Regions from separate parts of the Homo sapiens genome. Here region 2 is linked to region 1. The links are contacts of gene promoters, found by promoter capture Hi-C in blood cells and fetal thymus (Javierre and others, 2016). All regions are on one chromosome and are shown on one strand. Each heading gives the region's core, a stretch centred on a gene start or on the middle of the fragment in contact. The rest is flanking DNA. Distances are from core to core; before and after follow the strand shown.

Evidence for each region. The method cuts DNA at HindIII sites, captures the fragments that hold promoters and counts their contacts. A CHiCAGO score of 5 or more calls a contact.
Region 2: a contact is called between a fragment that was not itself captured here and the fragment with the promoter of RTF2 in region 1, in 1 of 17 cell types (total B cells). The highest score is 7.8, in total B cells.

Annotation. Positions count from the first base shown.
Region 1 is chr20:56,464,540-56,470,836 of GRCh38, forward strand. It overlaps RTF2 (replication termination factor 2), which reads left to right and starts at 4,088. Exons shown (of 9, transcript NM_016407.5): 1 at 4,088-4,227. The coding sequence starts at 4,159. The HindIII fragment of the contact is 9,363 bases long and covers 3,099-6,297 here.
Region 2 is chr20:58,651,536-58,657,869 of GRCh38, forward strand. It overlaps STX16 (syntaxin 16), which reads left to right. Exons shown (of 9, transcript NM_001001433.3): 1 at 1-603. The coding sequence starts at 472. It overlaps STX16-NPEPL1 (STX16-NPEPL1 readthrough (NMD candidate)), which reads left to right. Exons shown (of 23, transcript NR_037945.1): 1 at 1-603. Among named protein-coding and RNA genes, the nearest start is that of STX16, 3.4 kb to the left of the region's middle. RefSeq lists enhancers at 507-776, 614-1,117. The HindIII fragment of the contact is 616 bases long and covers 2,379-2,994 here.

The DNA of each region.
Region 1 (6,297 bases), core at 2,838-5,337:
AAGTAATTTTTGTCTTGAATTATCTCAGGACTTGCCTCAGTTTTCTACTTTGTTTTAACCTTCTTTGGGACACCTTCCTGTGTATGACCTTAAAGGATGGTTGCAAAGTTCTTCAAACATTTTTCATATCTACTGTCTTAGTCCATTTTTTGCAGCATTAACAGAATAAGAACAGATTTATTTCTTGCAGTTCTGGAGGCTGGGAACTCCAAGGTCAAGGGGCCTGCATCTGGCAAGGGCTTTTGTGCTGCATCATCCCAAGGTGGAAGGTGGAAGGACAAGAGAGCAAGAGAGGGCCGAACTCAATGTTATAACAAGTCCACTGTCTCGATCACTAACTCACTCCCAAGATAACAACATGAATCCAGTCATGAGAGCAGAGCCCTCATGACCTAATCACCTCTTATTAGGCCCCAGCTCCCAACACTGTTGCATTGGGATTAGATTTCCAACACATGAAATTTGGGGGACACACTCAAACCATAGCAGACAGTTTAAAAAATGTTTAATGCCAACTCTTAAAATGAGTTATGGTAAGCTGCAGCTACGGAAGAGCATATGAGCAGAGCTACCAGGAAATCAAACCTGCCATGGCTCAGAAGTCTGAAATGGGCCGGGGGCAGTGGCTCACGCCTGAAATCCCAGCACTTTGGGAGGCCAAGGCGGGTGGATCACAAGGTCAGGAGTTCGAGACCAGCCTGGCCAACATGGTGAAACGCCGTCTCTACTAAAAATACAAAAAATTACCTGGGCGTGGTGGTGTGCGCCTGTAATCCCACCACTTTGGGAGGCCAAGGAGGGCGGACCATGAGGTGAGGAGTTCGAGACCAGCCTGACCAACATGGTGAAACCCCATCTCTATTAAAAATACAAAAACTTAGCCGGGCATGGTGGCATGTGCCTGTAATTGCAGCTACTCAGGAGGCTGAGGCAGGAGAATCGCTTGAACATGGGAGATGGAGGTTGCAGTGAGCCCAGATTGCACCACTGCACTCTAGCCTGGGCAACAGGGTGAGGCTCCATCTCAAAAATAAAAAAATTATATAAAAAAAAGAAGTCTGAAATATTTGAGACCTACTGTAAGGACTTACTATAACAGCATTTAAAGTACTGGTTCTTAGCCTGAGGTTCAGAAGGCTGTGAGTAAAATACAAACATGTATACGCTATGTGAAATGTCGTTATGTGCTAATCAATACTTTTCTGGAGATTTAGTTCAAAGTTTTCATCAAATTCTCAAACAGGTCCAATGACTCCCAAAAGGTTAAGAAATACTGGTTTTACTAGAGGGTAATGATTTTCCTTTTTATCATTTCATTCCTCTGCTTCCCCAAAAATCCATGGCTTGGCTAGGACAAAGTTGTCTCCGAAGATGCTTGTAAGGGAATAACCTTTATTAGTTCATTCAACAAGGCAGTGGAAGAAGAAGCAGACAATGATGACATCTGCTTCCCAGTAGAGCCGGGAGAATAAAACGGCTCAAGTCCAATAAAGCGCTGAACACAGCACCTGACATGGCAGCCAGCTCTCAACACATATTTGCTACCAATGATAATAAACCTCACAAAAGTTCTAGCTGCGTATAGTCTGAGGCACAGAGTAGCCTAGAGACCAATATTCTAAAAGAGGAAACCAATGAGGAAGAGAAAAAAGTCCAGCTGCCTGAGCTAGAACACCAGCACAGCCGGTACTGCTGGGTTTTATCAGCAGCATTTGGGGAAGCAGTTAAGTCAGACGGGCCTCATCGGAGACAGCCCCTCATCTTATACTCCTTTTACTCAGCAGCTATGAGACTCTGAACAAAGACAACTTGCACATCTGAGTCTTGGGGTTTTCATTTGTAAAACAAGAGGGATTATACCTTCTAACTCTTAAGGTTATTGTGAGCCCAAAGTGAAAAAATGCCTACAAATCTCTCAGTGCACGCATGGTCATGGCTTAATAAAGAGCCGCTATTTTTGTTTTTTCTTCCCCAAATGAGAAAAGAACACTGGTTTGAGTCTTTCTAAAGATGCTGGTGTTTCTGCTCTTCTGTATTTGACTTTCTTTCCTTTGCTGTGAGAAAGAACTAATCCTAGCACTCATTCCCGGGTCTCTCACTGCCTATGTGACCTTGAAGGAGTCATTTGATCTTTCCACGCTTCTGTTTCCTCACCAGTAAATGGAATTCTAATAGTACTAACCAGTTTTAGTATCTGCCAAAACTAGGCTTTTCACCCCTTTCTCAATGAATCTGTACTTTCTTTTGGTTTACTGAGGAAATGTACTCATATATTGAGTGTGCCAAAGACTCTTCTAGGCACTGATGATACAATGTGGAATAAAAGTCCTGGCCGGGCTTGGTGGCTCACGGCTGTAATCCCAGCACTTTGGGAGGCCGAGGCAGGTGGATCACCTGAGATCAGGAGTTTGAGACCAGCCTGGCCATCACGGTGAAGCCCCGTCTCTACTAAAAATACAAAAATTAGCCCAGCATGGTGGCGGGCGCCTGTAATCTCAGCGACTGGGGAGGCTGAAGCAGGAGAATCGCTTTGATCCTGGGAGGTTGAGGTTGCAGTGAGCCGAGATCACATCACTGCACTCCAGTCTGGGCAACAGATCGAGACTCTGTCTAAAACAAAACAAAACAAAATGAAGTCCCTACCCTCATAGAGCTTACAGTTATTGTGGTTAGCATAGAAATAAATCATAAATCAATCAGAGACCAACTAATTAAAGGGATTATTTTTTAAAATTCTCATTAATCACAGTAACAAGTACCCCAAGCTTACATATAGCCCTTGAAGTTTCCACATCCACGTATTTTCTGGGCAACTCTTCCCAAGTAAAAAATATTTTCAGCGTTTTTATGTTTCACGTAGGTCAATAGGGTAATATCCAATCATAAAGATCTGCCTTCTTGGCAATGGAGAAATTTTCCCATCATATATATGTACAAATACATACATACATACATACATACATATTAATGACAGAGTCTTGCTCTGTTGCCTAGGCTGGAGTGCAGTGGCATAATCATAAGCTCACTGCAACCTTGAATTCCTGGGCTCAGGCAATCCTTCCTACCCCCTCAGCCTCCGGAGCCGCTAGGACTACAAAAGCTTACCACAACGCCTGGCTAATTTTTCTTTTTCTTTCAAGATGGTGTCTCACCATGTTGTCCAGGCTGACCTGGAACTCCTGGGCTCAGGTGCTCCTCCCGTCTCGGCCTCCCAAAGTGCTGGGATTATAGGCACTTTCCCATAATATTTATAATAATTAAAGGAACAAACAGAGAGATAGACAATCGCCTAAGAGCAGACAGACAATCATGAATTTTTAGCAAGGGATTTGTGTTCTTATAGATAAAATACAGCCTGACTCTTGGAACGGGCATGGCAACATCAGTGTATATTTTATAAGAACTATTATATCGTCTATTAATGATACTTGATTGTTAATAAAATTTTTTTAGCCTGGGCTTCAGGAAACTGTGAATGAAATACACACACGCACAAACTGTATGCAAAATTTCACACACATGCCATCTACAATATGCATGGCAACACCAGAAAGTTCCAGGCCTTAAGGGAGGGTCTTACTTCCTAGAATCTGTTGTAACATCACTTCACAAGATTTGTTGTGAGTGCTTGAGTCACAGTTGGCGCTCAAGAAAGATGCGTTCTCCTTTTAAACACAAAAATGTCCATTGATACAGCAGATTCCGTTCATAGGCATCCTTAATCGCAGAAACAGGAGGGCGGCCCTTTTCCTCAAGGCGCTCTCAGTCCAGGGATGTGCCCGCTCCGCAGCCACACAAGCTGGCGTGGGATAGGGTCAAAGAGCGGTGGATGCGCACGGGCCGCCCACGCCCTCGCTGCCCTCCCGGAGCGTGGGCGAGTGATTCCGATTGTGCAGCAGAAACCCAGGGTCTCACGGGAACGAGGAAACCCGCCCACGCCCAGCCTCCAAGCGACGCTCTCCATGACAACCGGCACTTGGTAACGGCCTCGCCCTGCCCCGCTACGCCGCGCCTAGCGTGCCGCCCCGCCCCGCCCCGCTACGCCACGACCAGCGTGCTGCGTCACGGCGGTGCGCCGGAAGTGGCTGCGGATTTCGCCGGAAATCCCGGAAGTGACAGCTTTGGGGGTTTGCTGCTGGCTCTGACTCCCGTCCTGCGATGGGTTGCGACGGGGGAACAATCCCCAAGAGGCATGAACTGGTGAAGGGGCCGAAGAAGGTTGAGAAGGTCAGTGATGTGGGCCGGCTCTTGGCGACCGGGGGTGGTGGGAATTTGACGACCCCAGAAAACGAGAGGAAGTAAGAAGGGGGAGCCAGCGGAGTTCCAGACCTGGCTGCGGTCTTTTATTCCATTCAGAGGACTCAAAATTAACAACAGTATTAAGAGTGGACATTCAATGGGTGCTGACTATTGCCATTCACTGGACAGTAATCTTAACAGGGGGTATCTCATGTAATTATCACAATAGCCCTATAGCTACATACTGTTGTCCTCATTTTCAGACATGGAAGTTGAGGCTCAAAAGGAGAAATTTGCAAAGCTAGTAAATGGCAGAGCCAGGATTTGAACCCTACCTGCGACTAGTAGCAATAATACAAATACCTAGTGTATACTGAGTTTTGTATACACTAACTTCATTTGCTCAGAGAAGCCTTCCCAAACTGTTCCCTTACCACATCCTTTTATAAACTGTCTTAGCCTGCACACGGCTGTACGTGGTTGATTTGTATCAAGTCTTCCCCGCTAGACGGTAAGTTCCTGATAGCAGAGGCTGTACCCTTTTTTTCTCTGCAACTAGCATGGTTCCTGGCACACTAAATATTTCGAATAAACAAATGAGTGAATAATCCCTGATCTCACAAGTAATCGAGGAAATTATAATAATTTCTTTGCTACTGACGGGGACATTGAGTCCAGGGATATTAAGGTGACTAAGATCACACAGCTGGTAGGTAGTGAAGCCAGGATTCCCATCCACTTATTTGGGATTTCAAAGTTAGCACAAGTAATTACTTTTTAATGATAAAATATTTGTAAAGCACCTAGTAGAGACTTCTTTACAAAAATATTTGTAAAGCACACGTGGAGACTTCATGTATTCTGATTCAGGAGCTGGAGAGCTTGTTTAAAAGGTAAACCCCTTAAGTCACTATTGTATTTGAAGCATTCCAGTGGCTTCCCATCACATTAAGAATAAAATCTCGTCAGACCCTTGAGCAGACCTTGCCTATGTTTCTGACCTCATCTTCTGCCCCTCTCCACCTCTTTCATACTGTTCTAGCTAAACAGGCCTCTTGTTCTTCAACCTGGAGTGTGAGTTCATCAATCTGAAATACTCTTCACTGAGATTGTCACATGATGAGTTTCTTTACTTCATTCAGTTTTTTACTCAAATGTCATCTGTCCACTGTAACTGAAATGTGCCTCACTTCCAATATTCTCTCTTCTCTTCTTAACAGTGCCTACCACTGTGTTGTTTATTGTCTCTTTCCCACGTAGACAGGAACCTTGTGTGTCTTACCTCTGTAACCCCTACCATGTGTCAGCCACATAATAGACACCTAATAAGTATGTGTGAATATGGGAATGAATGAATACCCAAGAGGATGAAGTGTACCCTCTGATCATACGTACATGTAAACAGGCGAATGCTGGATAATTAGCATTCATGAGTGGTTTTTTGGCTTTCACCAAAAAAGTGTTTAGCTCAGTTTTGTTTTCTTGTGCCCAGGGCTGAAAAGGAGTAGCTTAATGAAAGGCTTGACAAGAAACAGGTGTCGGAAGAGGGTAGAAAAGAAGGAAGAGCGATTCAAAAAAGCCAGAATGCCTAGGCAGGATGGATTTTTATTATAACTATTCACACAACAAATGCTTAATAAGTGGTTACCATATATACATTGTTGTAGGCCCCAGGGATATAGCAGTGAACAAGGCAGAGTCTAGCCCTGGTGGAGCTTACATTTCGGATCAATATTGTGAAATCTGCCCTGGTTCCTAACGCAGAGCACCTAAATTCCTTGTAATTTCCTGGGTGACGGGATCATCTTTTGTTCTAATAAGGCAATTATTGGTGGGCTCCTGGATGGGGCCTGGTCACCAGAAACACCAAGCCAAGATTAGAAGCCTGGAACTTTCAGCCCCACCTCACCCCCATCCTTCAGGGAGGAGAAGAGGAATTGGACATGGAGTTAATAATCCATCATGCCTACGTGGTGGGGTCTCCATAAAGATCCCTGAAGTTGAGGGTTTGGAGATTTTCTGGGTTGCCGACAACATCCACATGCCAGGAGAGTTACC
Region 2 (6,334 bases), core at 1,437-3,936, 2.2 Mb after region 1:
GGAAACTGAGTCACAGCCAGACCTCAGGGCACGGCCTAGACGCTTACGAGCCAAAGTTAGGGGTAGAGAGCAGAGACCTCCGGGGGGTCTCAGGGAGTAGGGGGCTTCAGGGCCTCCCAGTCTAGAGCCGGATTGGCGAGTTAGACGCTTGTAGATCCAAGGTTGGATTGGGGTGGGGTCTCTGGGACGTTGGATCGCTACGCAAGGATTGGGGGGATTCAAGTGCTTAGAGATCGAAGTCTGCCCTGGGTAGGGGGAGTCAGACAATTGGAAAGCCTAGGTAGTTATTTGGGGAGGGGTCTCTACGCCTTGGCGAAGCGCACAGCTGCATCTTTTTGGCTTGAGGCCTGAGGCCTTGTCGAGAAGCTTCCGTGAAAGGGTGGGCCAGCCGGGCCACGAGAAAGAAAGTGAATAAATCAGGAATATAAGTGGGCGGGGGGCCCCTGAGAGGGGGGTCGCAAAGGGTGAGACATGGCCACCAGGCGTTTAACCGACGCTTTCTTGTTGTTGCGGAATAATTCCATCCAAAACCGGCAGCTGTTAGCCGAGCAAGTGAGTAGTCACATCACCTCCAGCCCTCTGCATTCACGTAGCATTGCTGCGGTGAGTCTCCTGGCGGCCTCTCCGACACACGGACCGTGTGCACTGCGGCTCTGCCTGTTTGTCTGTCTCTGTCTGTCTCTCTGTTTAAAAAGAGAAGATAAGAATAATAAGACTAAGAATAATAAGATCTCTTGGCTAGAGTCAGGGGGCATCTGTAGCCCTGGATGAGGAAGAAGCGGTGCTGTGAGGCCGCAGCTCCACCTCTGCCCGGTCTTCTCCTCACTTCCGCAGCACCCCCCCCCCCGCACCCCCCGCCTTGGCGTCACTGCGCTACAGGCCGCCTGTAATTTACATATGTTTTAACGCTAACATTGGGAAGCATTGGGCCTTTCTGAAGCCTTTTTGTTTCGTTTTGTTTGAAGCTCCCCTCCCCCCAGTAATGAGCCTCAGTTTGGTCCTAAGGGCTGGGTCGCCGGATCGTAGACCCAAATCCTTGCAAAATGAACGACTCCCTCCCCTCAAAGAGGAGGGAGTTGTGTTGTTGTTTTGTTTTGTTTTGTTTTTCCGCCCGTTTTCTTTTAACGGCCCCGCAGCCCTCTGTGTGGCCTTGTTCCCTGTGAATAATTGCCTCACTGTTCTTCCTGGGGGCTTGCGTTTGTGAGACTCAAGGTGCTAGCCTCTTCACTTTCCATTTCCCAGACAGGAAATTAAGCTTTCCTCTCCATTCGAACTTTTTAAAAAAAGCCTGAGGAGGTATATGTGAAAATTAACCCCGTAAAATAGCACTTTTTTTTTTTAATTAACCACAACCTTTAGTTAGCCTAGCAGTAGCGTTTTTTAAGGGTGGTCCTGGAAAAATTACTGTTTGGGGTTTGTTTTTAATGGGGGCTACTTTTCCCTTTCTGAGCCTCAGTTTACTGCTCTGTTAAATAAGGGGCGAGTCTGGATGATCTATACCAGACAGTGATCGTTAGCTCTGTAATGTCTTCAATTGAAAAGTGAAGTTATGAAACTGGCTGTAGTTCAGGCTACCTGCTGTAGGCAGACTAGGTTGGAATAGAAGCAGCGTTGGAACAGGCGGGAAATAGCCATCCCAGGACCACATTCTTGGGGGTTATACTTGATATTAGGCAATTTTGGAACATTCATTTCACCTCTTAGGGACTGTATTGCCAGTTTATTTTTTTCTTTATGGCTTTATCTAAATGCTTCAGGAAAATTTTGCCATATGTCATGATTATCATGTCTACAAAGACAGTTTCTCCTTTTTGTAAGTCACAGGTGGAGAATGTCTTTGGCCATATAACTGATAGAAAAGTCATTTTAAGCCGTGTGAGCGGTTTCAGGAATAAAAGCATGTAAACTCAGGTCAAACAGCCTAGAACTAGGGACAGAGTGTGTGTGAGATTTCAGTTAATTAAGAAGTTGAAGGGTTTTTTTTACATTTATAAACGGAAAGGAATTACATTATATTGAAATAAATGTAAAGATGTCTGGTAGCATAGAAACAGGCTAATTCTAGCGCTAATTTTGAAGAAGAAATAATCCAAGAAATCGAGTAGAAATTGGATGAATTCAATTCCTTAATGGAACTTCAGTAATGTTAAATAAGAACTGCATGTTCCTTAAATGACTTGATTTTGTGCTGCCTCAAAAACTACTGAAACTCATATTAAGATTTCTAAGGTATCAGTTTTAATTGAAAAACATATTGTTTATTTTTCAATTTTTAATCATTAAGGTTCAAAATACCCTGAACCTTTGGGTAACATGAGGGTTTTTTTTTTTTTCCCGATTAAGTCAGACAGTTTAAAAACCTAGTATCTGAGACGGGAAGCTTTTTAAAAGTGCATCTCTGAATCAGACCACTTTAGAAAATTATTTTCTAAGTTAGGCAATTTTAAAAAATATTTAAGCTAAGCAGAATAATTAAAAATGGATAGTTAACGTATACAGTTTGGAAAAATAGATATGTCAGGGTATATACAGATACATTTAGCTAACTCACAGTTTTTTGAAAATAGATTTCTAAACCCAACTAAAAATACATTTCTAAGAACGTTAAAAAATGTTTTCTAAATGTCATACCATTGAAAATGTTAATATTTATATTAGTCTGACCATTTAAAATCTTTCTCAGATCATTGAAAGCAGTCATATCATTTAAAATATCCTTATAGTCAATCCATACTATCTCAAAAATAGGTTTTGCAGTCTAACAAACATAGTTTGCCTGAATTCAAATTTAAAAATAAAACACAGATTTATATATTTTAATTGTGTTAAAAAATGGCATGTCATAAATTTCTGAAGTATTTAGGGTTGAAGTGTTACATCTTCACTTTGCTTACAGGTGATTCGTAACAAAATCTATTCTGCACACAGTACGGCGAAATGCTAACAAGACTAAATAGAGGTTATGATTTTTTCAACTTTTCTGGAAGTTGGAAAAGCTTTATAAACATTTTGAAGCAAAAGCCATGTTTAACACAATTTGTAAAATCTATTGAGTAACTCTTAGCAATGCTTTTCACTGCATATCTAGCTCACAAAAAATTTAAAGCCTTGTTTCTGACTTGTAAATTTCAAAGCCATGTAGCAAACCAAACAAAATCGTATCTGTCAAATTTTGAATATGGACTAGGTATTAGGTGACATTAAGGAATTAATTATAATACATTACATTTGCTAATTTTATTAGAGATGCCTACTGAAATGTTTAGTGGTGAAATGTCAAGGCATCTTACCTAAGTCCTTAAACCCCTCCAAAAATAGAGGAAGCAAATAAGGCAAATTGTTACTCATTGTTAAGTCTAGTGATGAGTATGTGTGCGACATTTTACCATTTTGTAGGCTTTTCTGCATGTTTGAAAATTTTTAAATAGAAACTTAAAGTAAGTATATTTGTTATAGTAAAGTAAAACAGTTAAAAAGAGGCAATTTGTAAATACATGTCTAACACTCAGGCAATTTGAAAGGAAGAAATTAAACCTAAGTTTAACTTAATTTAAAAAATAATAACCTGGAATTTTAAGTTTCCAATTAGAAGAAAAAGCTGTAGACTTTGATCTTGATGCATTTGATACCAACTAAAAATACACCTAAAATAACAGACTTTTTAAAAAAAAAATTGTAATCCTGAATTTTGACATCTTATTTCAGGAAAAAGCTGCAGAAATTAATTGCAGAGTAGTGTGTATCATACACCTCAAAGCAAAGCACACCTAAAGCCATGCCATTCAAAAAATTTAAACATGCATTTTTTGCATCCTAGTTTGAGGGAAAAAACTAGAATTTGGTTGTTGTAGTGGGGTTATTGTGTGTCCCTGTGCGTGCATACAGGGTTTTGCAGCATTCAGGCAAATATGTCAAATAAACAGGAATTTAAGGAGGATACGCAGTGACCAGATAAACACAAAGCCTCAAGGGCCAGAAGGAACCTAAAGGTCATTTGGCCTAATGTCCCCATTTGTGATAACCCCTCATGCCTATCTTATTTGGCCATGGTGTATGACAATGATGGAAAATGCCAGCAGCTCCATGATTTTTACCACTAAAAAGTCTTTGCCTGTTAATCCCAACTATTTGTGTCCTGGGGTCCTGCTTTTAGTTCTGTTCCTTCGGGTCTTCCTTCTGTCTGGTAACCCTGCAGCCTTGTTACCCAGAATTCTTTCCAGGCCTAGCATTCCCGGCTCAGAGTGGTTATGCTTTTTTCCTATAAATGATGTTTAGTTTTTCTGTATCCTTTTTAGATTTCAGCATCCAGAACTGAGCAAAATTCTACTTTTTTGTGTTCTTAGTTGTATTAAAGTTAGTAAAACTAATTGTAAAAAAACAGACAGGTTTGACTTTATGCACTCCTAACAAAATACAGTCGTATTTCCCATGCATTTTACTTTGGCCTCAGTTTTGAGTGCCCCATCACGTTCATGCCTCAGGGCAGCATGAAATAAAGGAAAGAGCACTGAGAATTGAATCTGAGAATTGAGGCCTAAGTCCTGTTCTGCTGCAGGCTCAGAGTGTGTCCTTAGGCAAGCCTTTAATCTTTTCGGACATTTTTTGCCTCATTTGTAAACTGAGGGGTTTGGGTTAGGTGATTTCCAGCAGCCCTATCGATTCAACAGTATTTTCTCAAGTTCTGTTTTAATACATTGTTTCTCCTGACTTTAGCTTTAATTTGAAAAGGAGAAATTCATAGTCAACAGTGTTGTAGCTGTCAGTCCAAGGTTACTGACAGAAATCCTTAGAAGTAGCCCCAGTACTGTGCAAAAGTAACTTTCACATTATTATGCCAGCCAAGTGCAGGTTTTAAGGTAGCAACTCATTCAAGCAGCTTGGCTTTAGGAAACTGAAATGGATTTATGAAGCTAAACAATTATTCAAAACAAATTGTAAAGTCATAAAGAAATGAATGAAAGGTAGATATTGAGATGCTCTTCTGATCTGATGAAATTCTGTATGGATTTGTGTGGTTTCCTTCGATCTCCGGGAATGGATCTAATATAGGGGTTGGAGCTACTTTGTTAGTGTTTACTGCCTAATCTATACTCTGCTTTAAAATAATGCATAATCTATAATTGGAAGCTAGCGTTAATTGGTCTTAGATTAGTTTGAAACATAAGCACATTATTTTTAATAAAATGTGTGCTTTAGGAAAAAGGAAATTAAGGATTAACTATGGTTATAAGAAACCTGAGGTCCTTATTCAGGCTTGACTACAATATTAGCTAAGATTTATGGAGAGTTTACTTTGTGCCTGGCTCTGGGCTAAGCCCTTTCCGTGTGTAAGCTCAGCTCATCTTCACAGTGCTCTATCAAATAAGTACTATTGTTTTTCTCAGATACAGATAAGGAAACAGATTTTAGAGGAGGTAGGAAACTGGCCCAGTGTCACCCACCTGATGGCTGGGGGCTGTGATTGGAACTCTGGCAAATCTGGCTTCAGAGCCCCGTGCTCACCTCCTGGGCCACTCTGGTGTTGGCTGCATTTTCAGAACTTGTGCTGCAGATCCTGGAAAATGGAAGGACCTATTGTTTTAAAACAATTTTTTTTCTTGCAATAGGCTAGCATCTTTCTTTATCTCACTTTATGAACCTTACATAGTCAATTTTAACTTGCAGATTGAAGATTCTAAGTTTTAGTACAAGCTGAGTCTGTTGGAAAATTAGTTCTCTGTCTTTAGAATCCAAGTATGAAATCATTATATATTTCTCTTTAGATCTACTTGCTTTTCTGCTTTTAAAGATTCCATGGGAGCAGTGAGGCTTACTTTGAGAATAAGGGTACTTTGTTGGATAAAAGTGAAGCAAACTTTTATTTTGGCAGTAACGGAAATAAAGTAAATATCACTATAGCATAGACCTGTGTTTCCAACTCATTTTGCTCAACTTTTCCAGACTTCCTGAGTAAACACAGATGGGTTTCCACTTATTTTTCAGTTTTATGTAGAAAGTTCTTTAGACTATAAATTCCACATGCTACTTGGAGTTTTCAGTGTTTGCTTGATTGCATGCCATTGGAAGGTCAAAAACCTAGATTTAGACATTATAAAGATTTAGAAGGTGATGATGTGTAGTAACGTGTTTTCATTTGGCTTTATTTTGGTCTTTCTTGATGGTAATTCTAAATGTTTTAATTCAGGTCTTGACTAAATTTCCTGGTAATTTGGTGGCAGACAGAATTTTGAAAGCCTTCTATTTTTAAATAGCAGAATGGTGGGGAGGGTCTTTGAAAAGGTGACCTTAATTTAATATTCCTGATGTGGTGGTAGCTGCCTATCACAAGTAATTC